Linked DNA regions of Homo sapiens: region 1 is linked to region 2. The links are contacts of gene promoters, found by promoter capture Hi-C in blood cells and fetal thymus (Javierre and others, 2016). All regions are on one chromosome and are shown on one strand. The core of a region is centred on a gene start or on the middle of the fragment in contact, and the rest is flanking DNA. Distances in the headings are between cores, read along the strand shown. Region 1 holds the start of ADGRE1 (adhesion G protein-coupled receptor E1). Region 2 holds the start of TUBB4A (tubulin beta 4A class IVa).

Evidence for each region. The method cuts DNA at HindIII sites, captures the fragments that hold promoters and counts their contacts. A CHiCAGO score of 5 or more calls a contact.
Region 1: a contact is called between a fragment that was not itself captured here and the fragment with the promoter of TUBB4A in region 2, in 1 of 17 cell types (activated CD4 T cells). The highest score is 5.4, in activated CD4 T cells.

What each region holds. Positions count from the first base shown.
Region 1 is chr19:6,886,316-6,891,360 of GRCh38, forward strand. ADGRE1 (adhesion G protein-coupled receptor E1) reads left to right here and starts at 1,264. Exons shown (of 21, transcript NM_001974.5): 1 at 1,264-1,324; 2 at 4,166-4,228. The coding sequence starts at 1,294. RefSeq lists an enhancer at 1,258-1,317. The HindIII fragment of the contact is 483 bases long and covers 3,510-3,992 here.
Region 2 is chr19:6,499,124-6,504,326 of GRCh38, forward strand. It overlaps TUBB4A (tubulin beta 4A class IVa), which reads right to left and starts at 3,186. Exons shown (of 4, transcript NM_006087.4): 1 at 3,033-3,186; 2 at 2,392-2,500; 3 at 2,164-2,274. The coding sequence starts at 3,089. RefSeq lists silencers at 2,703-2,812, 2,983-3,162, 3,173-3,442. The HindIII fragment of the contact is 23,046 bases long and covers 666-5,203 here.

The sequences.
Region 1 (5,045 bases), core at 2,501-5,000, 390 kb after region 2:
ATCTTGGCCAGGCTGGTCTTGAACTCCTGACCTCGTAATCCACCCTCCTCAGTCTCCCAAAGTGCTGAGATTACAGGTGTGAGCCACGGTGCCCGGCCATGTCTGTATTTTCTATTTCCTTGGTGTGAGGCAATGAACCTCGGGTATTACCCCAGATGGATGACACTGCTTCAATATCTGCCAGTCACTACACTTTGTTATCAGTGGGATTACATCAACTGGAGCCCATTCTATCTGCTTGGAGGCCAGGCCTGAAGATTCAAGGGGTTGACACCCTCTAGGAGCAAGCCTCAAGTCAACCCATGACTGACAGTAGGTGGGATATAAATACCTCAGCTCCCTCACCCCTCGGTTGGAATAACTGAAGAGTATGTTCCATGCCGCTCCCCAGTCATCCCTGGGGAGGTTAAGTTCCACTTTCTCACCATGTAACTTATTTGAAGACACACCCAGTATTGGCTCTTTGCCTTTCCTGATTCACTTTCTCCTCCCCCAGCTGGTGCTTTCTGGGGCCACCTTCTTGATAAACTACTTTTGCTAGAATCCTTGTCTGAGGGTCTGCCCTTGTGAGACCCTAAGATGTTACCAGAGAGAGTTAGGAAGCTGGGAATGGGGTGGAAGTGTTGCTGTATAATCGTCAGACAGAGTTGAGATCTGAAGGAAAATAAGATGGTTAAAGCTCTTGACTCTGGAATCAGAGGGTCCTGGGTTCAAATCTCAAGTCTGAGAGATCTTGGACAAGTTATAACTCCTCTGCAAGTCTCAGTTTCCATTTTGTTGGTGAATAGAGGGAGGGAGGGGAATTCCTACTTTACAAGGTTAACATGATAATGAAATTACACTTTGTTGCCAATGTGCCTAGCACACTGCCTGGTACATGATGGTTGTGATGGCTGTCTTTATACGGGAGACTGGGAAGAGACCCTAAAGGCTGAGATTTGCTTCACTGGAGGCAGGAAGCGGAAGCTCCTTTATTGGGTGCAATGAAAGAAGGTGTTGAGAGATGGGAGATAGATGTTGATGGGAAAGAAAAAGGGAGAGACCATGGGAAGGAGAGAGAGAGAGAATGATATACATTAGGCAGATTAACTTCTCTTTATTGTGAAGAAAGGGGGAAATTAGGATTTTCTAGGCTGTCTTTTAGTTGCAGCAAGTCAGCAAAAAGGGCTATGATGACCAGGCAGCATTGAGCAACTCTGACTCCGCCTTCCCCTCTTCGCACACCTTCTGGTTACTGAAAACCCAGCGTTAGTAGAAAAGTTTCTTTTCTTTGAATGACAGAACTACAGCATAATGCGTGGCTTCAACCTGCTCCTCTTCTGGGGTGAGTGTGAGGCTGAATGGGGGGCTAGGGGAGGCCTGGATTGGAAATAGACTTCAGGAGAAATGGGAGGGCCATGGATGGTCCAGCCAAGAGATCATAAGTCCAGACTGGATGCTGCAAACACCTTCATTCAGGGAACCTTTGACAAAATTCCATAGCTCAGGGAAGTCCATCTGTTAGGATAGATTTTTCTCTATAGTCATTCATTTGACCTGAGCAAGTCCTGTGTGTCAGGTGCTGTTCTAGGCACTAGAGGATATAGCAGTGAGAAAAAAAGACTAAGTTCCTGCACTCTTGAGGCTGATATTCTAGTGGGTAGGAGCAGACAGGAAAGAAGGCACAGATGATCATAGCCCACTTAGCACTGCTGTAACTTCTTTAAACATAGAGTGTATCCAATTGTCACAACATTTCTATGACATTGGGTCATTATTAGTCCTATTTTGCAAATGAGAAAACTGAGGCAAAAGAGATAAAATAATTTTCCCAAGGCCACTTAGTCAATAAGGGGTAGAGGCAGGATTTCAAGCCAGACAGTCTGACTTCAGAGTCTGTAAGCTTTTCCACTATACTATGTTGCCCCAAAAAATAAGTAAACATAGGAATTTCAGGTAGTGATAAGTGCTATGAAAGAAGTTGTTATAGAATGTGGTCGGGAGTTATGTTGAAGGGAGAAGTCTGGGGTTGAGGAGGGGCAGTTCGAGCTGAGTCCTGAAGGATGAGATAGACCCTTCCTGTGCTCTTATTTCTCTTTCTTCAGGTGTCAGTTTGTCTCAGCCTTGTTTATCTTCTGTGTTTCTGGTTTTTCTTCTATGTCTTGTGTGTTTTGGTCATTGGATCAAATTTAAGAATGGAGGATATTGGGGACATATTCTAAGTAGCAAGTATGGGTTTCCTCTGCTGTTGAAGAGTGGATCTGAATACCCTATTTTACCAAGGAGGAAACTGAGGCACAAAGAGATTAAATAACTTCCTCAAGGCCACGCAATCATTAATTGGTGAAGCCAGATTTTTAAACCTAAGCACTTTGACTTCAGACTTTGTATGCCTAAACAGCATGCTGAATTACCTCTAAAATAATTAATGAATGAGTAGAAGAATTTTTGTTAGTAATAATAGATAGAATTTGGGAGTTTAGATCTGTGGGACTTGTTGACTGGCAGGCTACATTAGAAGAAATAGGTGGCCTGTGGACATCAAATGTAGGCATGCAGAGTTGTTATTTTGGGGTGTTGGCAATGGTATTAACCATTAACACTCCCTATTCTGCCCTGAAGATAATCAGCAAAGAGTTGTGATAATGATAGTGATGATAATGATCATGATGGTGGTGGTTATAATAGTGATGATGAAAATGGTGATGATGATGGTGATGGTGATGATGATGATGATGATAATGGTGATGATAGTGATAATGAAGATGATGGTGATGATGATGGTGTGATAATGACCATGAAGATGGTGATGATGGTGATGATGATAATGGTGATGATAGGGATAATGATGATGATGGTGGTGATGATGGTGTGATAATGACGATGAAGATGGTGATGTTGGTGATTATGGTGGTGATGATGATGATGGTGGTGATGGTGATAATGGTGATGGTGATGATGATAATGGTGATGATGGTGATAATAATGATGATGATGATGGTGATGATGAAGATGATGATGGTGATGATGATAGTGATAATGATGGCGATAATGATGATGGTGCAGGAGACCTAAATGCTGCAGGGCTGCATTGCCTTTAAACACTAAAAAATGGGCAGGGCGCAGTGGCTCACGCTTGTAATCCCAGCACTTTAGGAGGCTGAGGCAGGCAGATCATGAGGTCAGGAGATCGAGACCATCCTGGCCAACATGGAGAAACCCCGTTTCTACTAAAAATGCAAAAATTAGCTGGGCGTGGTGGTGCGTGCTTGTAATCCCAGCTACTCGGGAGGCTGAGGCAGGAGAATAGCTTGAACCAGGGAGTTGGTGGTTGCAGTGAGCCTAGATCACGCTACTGCACTCCAGCCTGGTGACAGAGTGAGACTCCATCTCAAAAAAAAAAAAAAAAAAAAAAAGGAAAGAAAAACGAATTGCCCTACCCTCTCATGAAATGTTAATACTACAGATATACTGTATACCTATATATGTATTTTCTATATATACATATGTATCTTATACATAAAAGAGTAAGCTTAAAAAGATCTCTTCCTGAGAACCAAGTTTGGGTCCTTAGAGGATATATCACCCCTTTTGAGAATGCATGCTTTAATGTATGTTTTTGAAAATCAGCTAGAACTTTTTTTTTTAGACAGGGTCACCTAGGCTGGAGCGCAGTGGCATGATCTTGGCTCACTGCAGTCTCTATCTCCTGGGCTCAAGCAATCCTTCCACCTCAGCCTCCTGAGTAGCTGGGGCTACAAGTTGTCACCACCACCCAGCTAATTTAAAAAATTTTTTTTTTGTAGAGACAAAGTCTCACTGTGTTGTCCAGGCCGGTGTCAAACTGCTGGTCTCAAGTGATCCTCCCACCTTGGCCTCCCGAAGGGCTGGGATTATAGGTGTGCACCACAGTGCTTAGCCTGGAACTATTTAATCAAAAAGAAAAAGAAGATAAAGACAGACAAAATGAAAAGCAAAAGCAAAGTACAGAAAACCAGGAATGGTCATTGTTAAGCTTATGCAAAATAGTGTATGTTTGTTCCTTAACTAGGTTTGTCATCTAGCCTCTTCAAACCTATTTCTGTGGGGCCAAGCCAGGAGTAATTTTGCAGGTTGAGCCCAAAAGGTTTTTTTTTTTTTTTTTTTTTTTGGTGGTTCATGGTGTTTTTCTTTTCTTTCTTCACAGGATGTTGTGTTATGCACAGCTGGGAAGGGCACATAAGACCCACACGGAAACCAAACACAAAGGGTAAGTTGGCCAGAGAGAATGCAGATGCCTGAAGGGGTAGAGAAAGTTTTCTCCCCGGGGAAACATCCCAGGAAGCTGAGCCTCATCCAGATGCTTGCTGGGAGCTAGTTAGCGGCAGAGCAAGGGTTAACATGCAAGTCTCCTGATTCTCACTTCAGGCTCTTTCCTTTGTGCTTAGAATTGCTGTGTGATCTCAGATAAGTCACATAACCTCTCTGAACTTCAGTTTCCCAAGCTGTGAAATACAGATAACAATAGGGATGTTGTGAAACTTTAATTCAAAGAGGTAGCTTTGGAAACCACCTGGTATGTAGTATGAGCTTTATAAATGGTAGTGTAGTGAGAGTAGGGATGGAATTTACTCAAACTACAACTCAATGTGCAAAAAAAAAGTGACTTCTTTATGTTTTGTTAAATACTCTCATCTACATAAACTCTTGCTGGATAAAGGAAGAAAGACATTGTCAGTTCGTAGTTGTTGATATGGTTTGGCTATGTCCTCACCCAAATCTCACCTTAAATTGTAAGAATCCCCACGTGTCAAGGGCGGGGCCAGTTGGAGATAATTGAATCATGGGGGATGGTTTCCCCCATACTGTTCTCGTGGTAGTGAGTAAGTCTCACGAGATCTGATGGTTTTATAAATGGGAGATCCCCGCACAAGCTCTCTTGCCTCCTGCCATGTAAGTAAGACATAATTTTGCTCCTCATGATTGTGAAGCCTCCCCAGCCATGTGCAACAGTGAGTCAAATTAAACCTCGTTCCCTTATAAATTACCTAGTCTCGGGTATGTCTTTATTAGCAGCATGAAAACAG
Region 2 (5,203 bases), core at 1,936-4,435:
GGAGACCAGCCTGGCCAACATGGCGAAACCCCGTCACTATTAAAAATACAAAAAATTAGCTAGGTGTGGTGATGCATGCCTGTAGTCCCAGCTACTCGTGAGGCAGGAGAATCGCTTGAATCTGGGAGGTGGAGGTTGCGTCACTGCACTCCAGCCTGGGCAACGGAGACTCCGTCTCAAAAAAAAAAAAAAGCGTGGACCTAGTAGTCAGACCCTCTCCTCTGGCTCCTGACAGCCCCAGTGGCTTGCAGTGTGACTTTCTGCAAGTGACCTAACGTCTCTGTGCCTCTGTTTTCTCACCTGTAAAATGGAAGTAAGAGGCGAGTTGCGGAAAAGATTCAGAGAGGCAGGACAGGTCCTGCATTTAGCACGTCTTACATGCTGGGAGTATTGGAGGCGGGTGGAGCCAGGGTGGGGACATGCAGCCAGCTGGAGCCAGGAAAGCTTTCCCGGAAGGATTGTCCCAGGGTGTGGACACCCCACTATCTTCACATATGCTGTTGCCTCCGTCTTAAACATCTTTCCTCCCTTCCATGCCCTTTGGCCAGTCCAAATCCTACTCACATTCTAGACTGCAGATAGTAATGAAAACAACGACAAATGCTTATTTACCTCTTTCTCTGTGTCAGGCATTGTTCTAAACTCTACACATATTCATGACTTTAAGCTTCACAATTTTTTTTTTTTTTTGGAGACGAAGTTTCACTCTTGTTGCCCACGCTGGGGTGCAGTGTCATGATCTTGGCTCACCACAACCTCTGCCGTTCAAGCAATTCTCTTGCCTCAGCCTCCCGAGTAGCTGGGATTACAGGCATGTGCCACCATGCCTGGCTAATTTTTTATTTTTAGTAGAGATGGGGTTTCTCCATGTTAGTCAGGCTGGTCTCAAACTCCCGACCTCAGGTGATCCACCCGCCTCGGCCTCCCAAAGTGCTGGGATTACAGGTGTGAGCCACCGTGCCCACCCTGAGCCTCACAATTCTAATAGCATTTTAGAATCCCTGTTTTATTTGATCTTTTTTAGAGATGGGGTCTCACACCATCGCTCAGGCTGGAGTGCAGTGGCACCATCATAGCTCATGGCAGCCTCAACCTCCCAGGCTCAAGTGATTCTCCTACCTTAGCCTCACGAGTAGCTGTGACTACAGGTGCACACCACCTCACTCAGCTAATTAAAATTTTTTTCTTTTTGTAGAGACAGGGTCTCACCATGGTGCCCAGGCTGGTCTCGAACTCCTGACCTCAAGCTCTCTTCCTGACTCAGCCTCCCAAAGTCCTGGGTTTATAGGCATGAACCACCATGCCCAGTGAAATCCCTGTTTTAAAGACGAGGAGGCCGGGCAAGGTGGCTCATGCTTGTAATCCAGCACTTTGGGAGCTGAGTTGGGTGGATCGTTTGAGTCCCGGAGTTTGAGACCAGCATGGGCAACATAGAGAGACCCACCTCTCTACAAAGAAAACTAAAAAATTAGCTGGGTGTGGTGGTGCATGCCTGTAGGTCCAGCTACTTGGGAGACTGAGGCAAGAGGATCACGTGTGCCCAGAGGTGGAGGTGACAGTGAGCCGTGATCATGCCACTGCACTCTAGCCTGGGTGACAGCAGGACAGACAGACCCTGTCTGAAAAAAAAAAAAAAAAGAGGATTTTTGAGGCCCAGAAAGGCTGAGGAGCCCATCCTAAGTTATCCATCTGAATCAACCCCTGGCAGAGCTTTACTTATTTATCTCCTTTGTGGCCTATCACCTTCTACCAGAATGGGAGCTGCACTGGGGCAGAGAGGGAGCTCCGGCTGTTTGATTCTTACCTGGATCTCCAGCTTCTAGAACAGGGCCTGGTATGCAGTGAGTGCTCACTGTTTGTTGAATGCATGAAGTGGCAGAATTGGGATGTGCACCCAGGCAGTCTGGTTCCGGTTCAGACCGTTGAATTAAAATGCCACCTCCTCCAGGAAGACTTCCCTGAATCCTTCTCTGTATCCGCCCTCCTCAGGGCTCTCACAGTGGCCTGAGCATCCCCTCATCACAGCCCTGGATGCAGGGCTGGTGCCTGGTGCCCTGTCCACCCCATCTCTGGTCTGTGGGCCCCGGTGGTGGCTGTTGACTCTGTGGTGTTAGCAGGAATAAGGAGGTTTTCCAGCCTCTGGCTCCCTGCTGGGGGACTCACCAAACACGAAGTTGTCCGGCCGAAAGATCTGACCGAAGGGGCCAGAACGGACAGAGTCCATGGTGCCGGGTTCCAGGTCCACCAGCACCGCTCTGGGGACATAATTTCCTCCTGCAGGGAAACAGATGGAGGGCAGTTCGATGCGTGCCAGGAACCACAGGCGCCCGGTAGCATCCTGTTCCCTCCCAGCTGCCCCTTCCCACCTGGAAGGTGCCTCCTTCGCCCTACCTGTGGCCTCGTTGTAGTACACGTTGATCCTCTCCAGTTGCAGGTCACTGTCCCCATGGTATGTGCCTGTGGGGTCGATGCCATGTTCGTCACTGATAACCTCCCAAAACTAGAGAGAGAGGTGGTCGGAAGAGTTGAGAGAGGGGAAGCCGGTGGCCAAGCCGAGGACTGCCCCCAGCCCCCAACTAGCTCCCTAGCTGCCACCTCTCCCCCAGCAAGGTGAACGGGGGACCTAGAGGCATGGTGTCGGGGCGAGGATGAGGCAGCAAGAAGGAGCGGTGGGGGCGGGGTGCAGCCGAGTCAGCACCCAGCGGGGCCGGCTGGTGCCAGCGCACCCAGGCTGCAGCCCGGGGGAGGCACCGGGGCTCTTTGTGCGTGAGGAGGGGACAGTGGCCCAGCTGTGGGCCCAGCTGTGACAGGCGGACAGAAGGCTGGCTCCCACTCTCCGCAGCCTCTTTGTTCCCAGTCTGGCCCTGCCACCCCCACCCCGCGACCCTTCCCCCAAGGCCCCTGGGGCGCGCTGGCCTCCTGGGGACCTCATTCCTTTCCAAAGACTCCCAGGTTGCGGGGTGCTCCGGGGACCGACCCCGCGGTGCTCCCCGGGGCCGCCACTGCCTCCCCGGGCCCCGTTCCCCGAGCACCTTGGCCCCGATCTGGTTGCCGCACTGGCCGGCCTGCAGGTGCACGATCTCCCGCATGGCGGTGGCGCTGAGGGTGGACGCGGCGGCGGTGGCACGAGCGCGGGGAGCTGCGGCGGCGGCGAGGGTGGAAGATGCGGCGGAGACGGCGGAGCACGGTCCCTGCGCCCCCGGGAGCCGCTATATGAGCGGGCGGGGCACGCGTCACGGCCGGTCACCCTCCCGCTCCGCCCCTTGGTCCCGCCCCGGGATGATGGAGGGGGCTGGGGTGGGGGGAGGTGGTGCAGGGACCTCCCTCCCCAGGGGGCCTCCCAGAGAAGTCCGGGACGCCACGTGCTCCGACCCCTGCCTTGGGGGTGAGGCCCCTTAGGGAGCCACCAGTGCAGTCTCCCCCGTCCCAGCCCCCAGCCAGGCTTGGCCACCCGCAGAAATTGGGCGGAGGAAGGGAGGGGAGCGCCTGGTAAACAGGCATCTGAGAAGTCCTGCCCCTCCCCCTTAGCCTCCACCCTCCCGCCCCAGGCCTTGCCTCAGTTTCTCGGTCCGCAGCCCCCCTTCTCATTCTATTTAGACCTCATTCGCCAGAATCCTTGCAGTAACCGCGAGCCCTCCCAGTGGGCTGGGGGCTCCGGAGCGGCGATCTGGTTTGCGGGTGGGGGGCGGTAGGTTCCTGGAGGGCTTGTCCTGAAGCTGCATAGTAAAACCACGATTTTCCTCCCATGATTGGGTGCAGATGCTGGTGGGCTCCCCTGGTACACCTCTACTGGGCATTGAGCTCGTCCCAGGTGGGGTCACCCCCAGCCTGGCCTAAGGAGGAGAGTGGAGGAGTAAGACAGCTGGGTTCATATTGGGAGGGGGACAGTGAGTCCCCAGGGCTGCCTCGCTTTCCCAAAATAACACCCCTCCTCTCCAGTATTGTAATTTATCTTTATCTATATCTATACCCTTTTTTTTTTTTTTTTGAGACAGAGTTTCGCTCTTGGCGCCCAGGCTGGAGTGCAATGGCCCAATCTCGGCTCACTACAACCTCAGCCTCCCAGGTCCAAGCGATTCTCCTGCCTCAGCCTCCCGAGTAGCTGGGATTACAGGCATGTGCCACCACGCCCGGCTAATTTTTTTGTATTTTTAGTAGAGACAAAGTTTCTCCATGTTGTTCAGGCTGGTCTCAGACTCCTGACCTCAGGCCATCTGCCCACCTCTGCCTCCCAAAGTGCTGGGATTACAGGCGTGAGCCAACGCGCCCGGCCTATATATATATATTTTCGGACAGGGTCTTGCTCTGTCCCTCAGGCTGTAGTGCAGTGGCATGCTCATAGCTCACTGCAGCCTCAATGTCCTGGGCTCAAGCAATCCTCTCACCTCAGCCTCCCAAGTAGCTGGGACTGCAGGTGCATGCCATCACGCCTGGCTAATTTTCAAGATTTTTTGTAGAGATGGGGTCTCGCTATGTTGTCCAGGCTGCTCTCCAACTCCTGAGCTCAAGAGATCCTCCTGCCTCAGCCTCCCAAAGTGCTGGGATTCCAGGCATGAGCCACTGCGCCCAGCTCAGTATTATAATTTATTACCCACCATCTCCCTTGCCTCTGCATTTCCTGTAGCATTAGGTGTATGACCTTGCCCTGGTGCTCCTCTCTGTGTCTGAATTTCACATTTGCAAGTTGGGGTGGTGAGGAAGGCCCACCCTCCAGGGTCTGATTATGCGATGACCCAGTTAACAAGGTGGCGATAGTCTCCCCTCCTGCAGAGTCAACAATAAATTGTATCTTTCTCGAGTCTAAGTATTATCAGAGGCTGGACTGGACTTCCTGTGCTGCCCCTCATGTGAAGGTCAAGCCTCCTGGGGCTGCTTCCTTGGACAGCCTCCAGTCCCGCCCTCCCAGGAAGTCTCCTCCTCGCCTCCCATCCTTGACTTTCCCACTCAAGGACTTTGGTGTATTGCTGGTGGGAGGTGGGGTAAGCCATCTTGGCCATGTGGTTGGGACCTCACATTTGCCATGGCCACTAATTTTTTTTTTTTTTTTTTTTTTTTGACAGAGTCTTGCTCTGTCACCCAGGCTGGAGTGCAGTGGTGCCATCTCGGCTCACTGCAACCTCTGCCTCCTGGGTTCAAGCCATTCTCCTGGCTCAGCCGCCCCAGTAGCTGAGATTACAGGTACGTACCACCATGACCAGCTAAT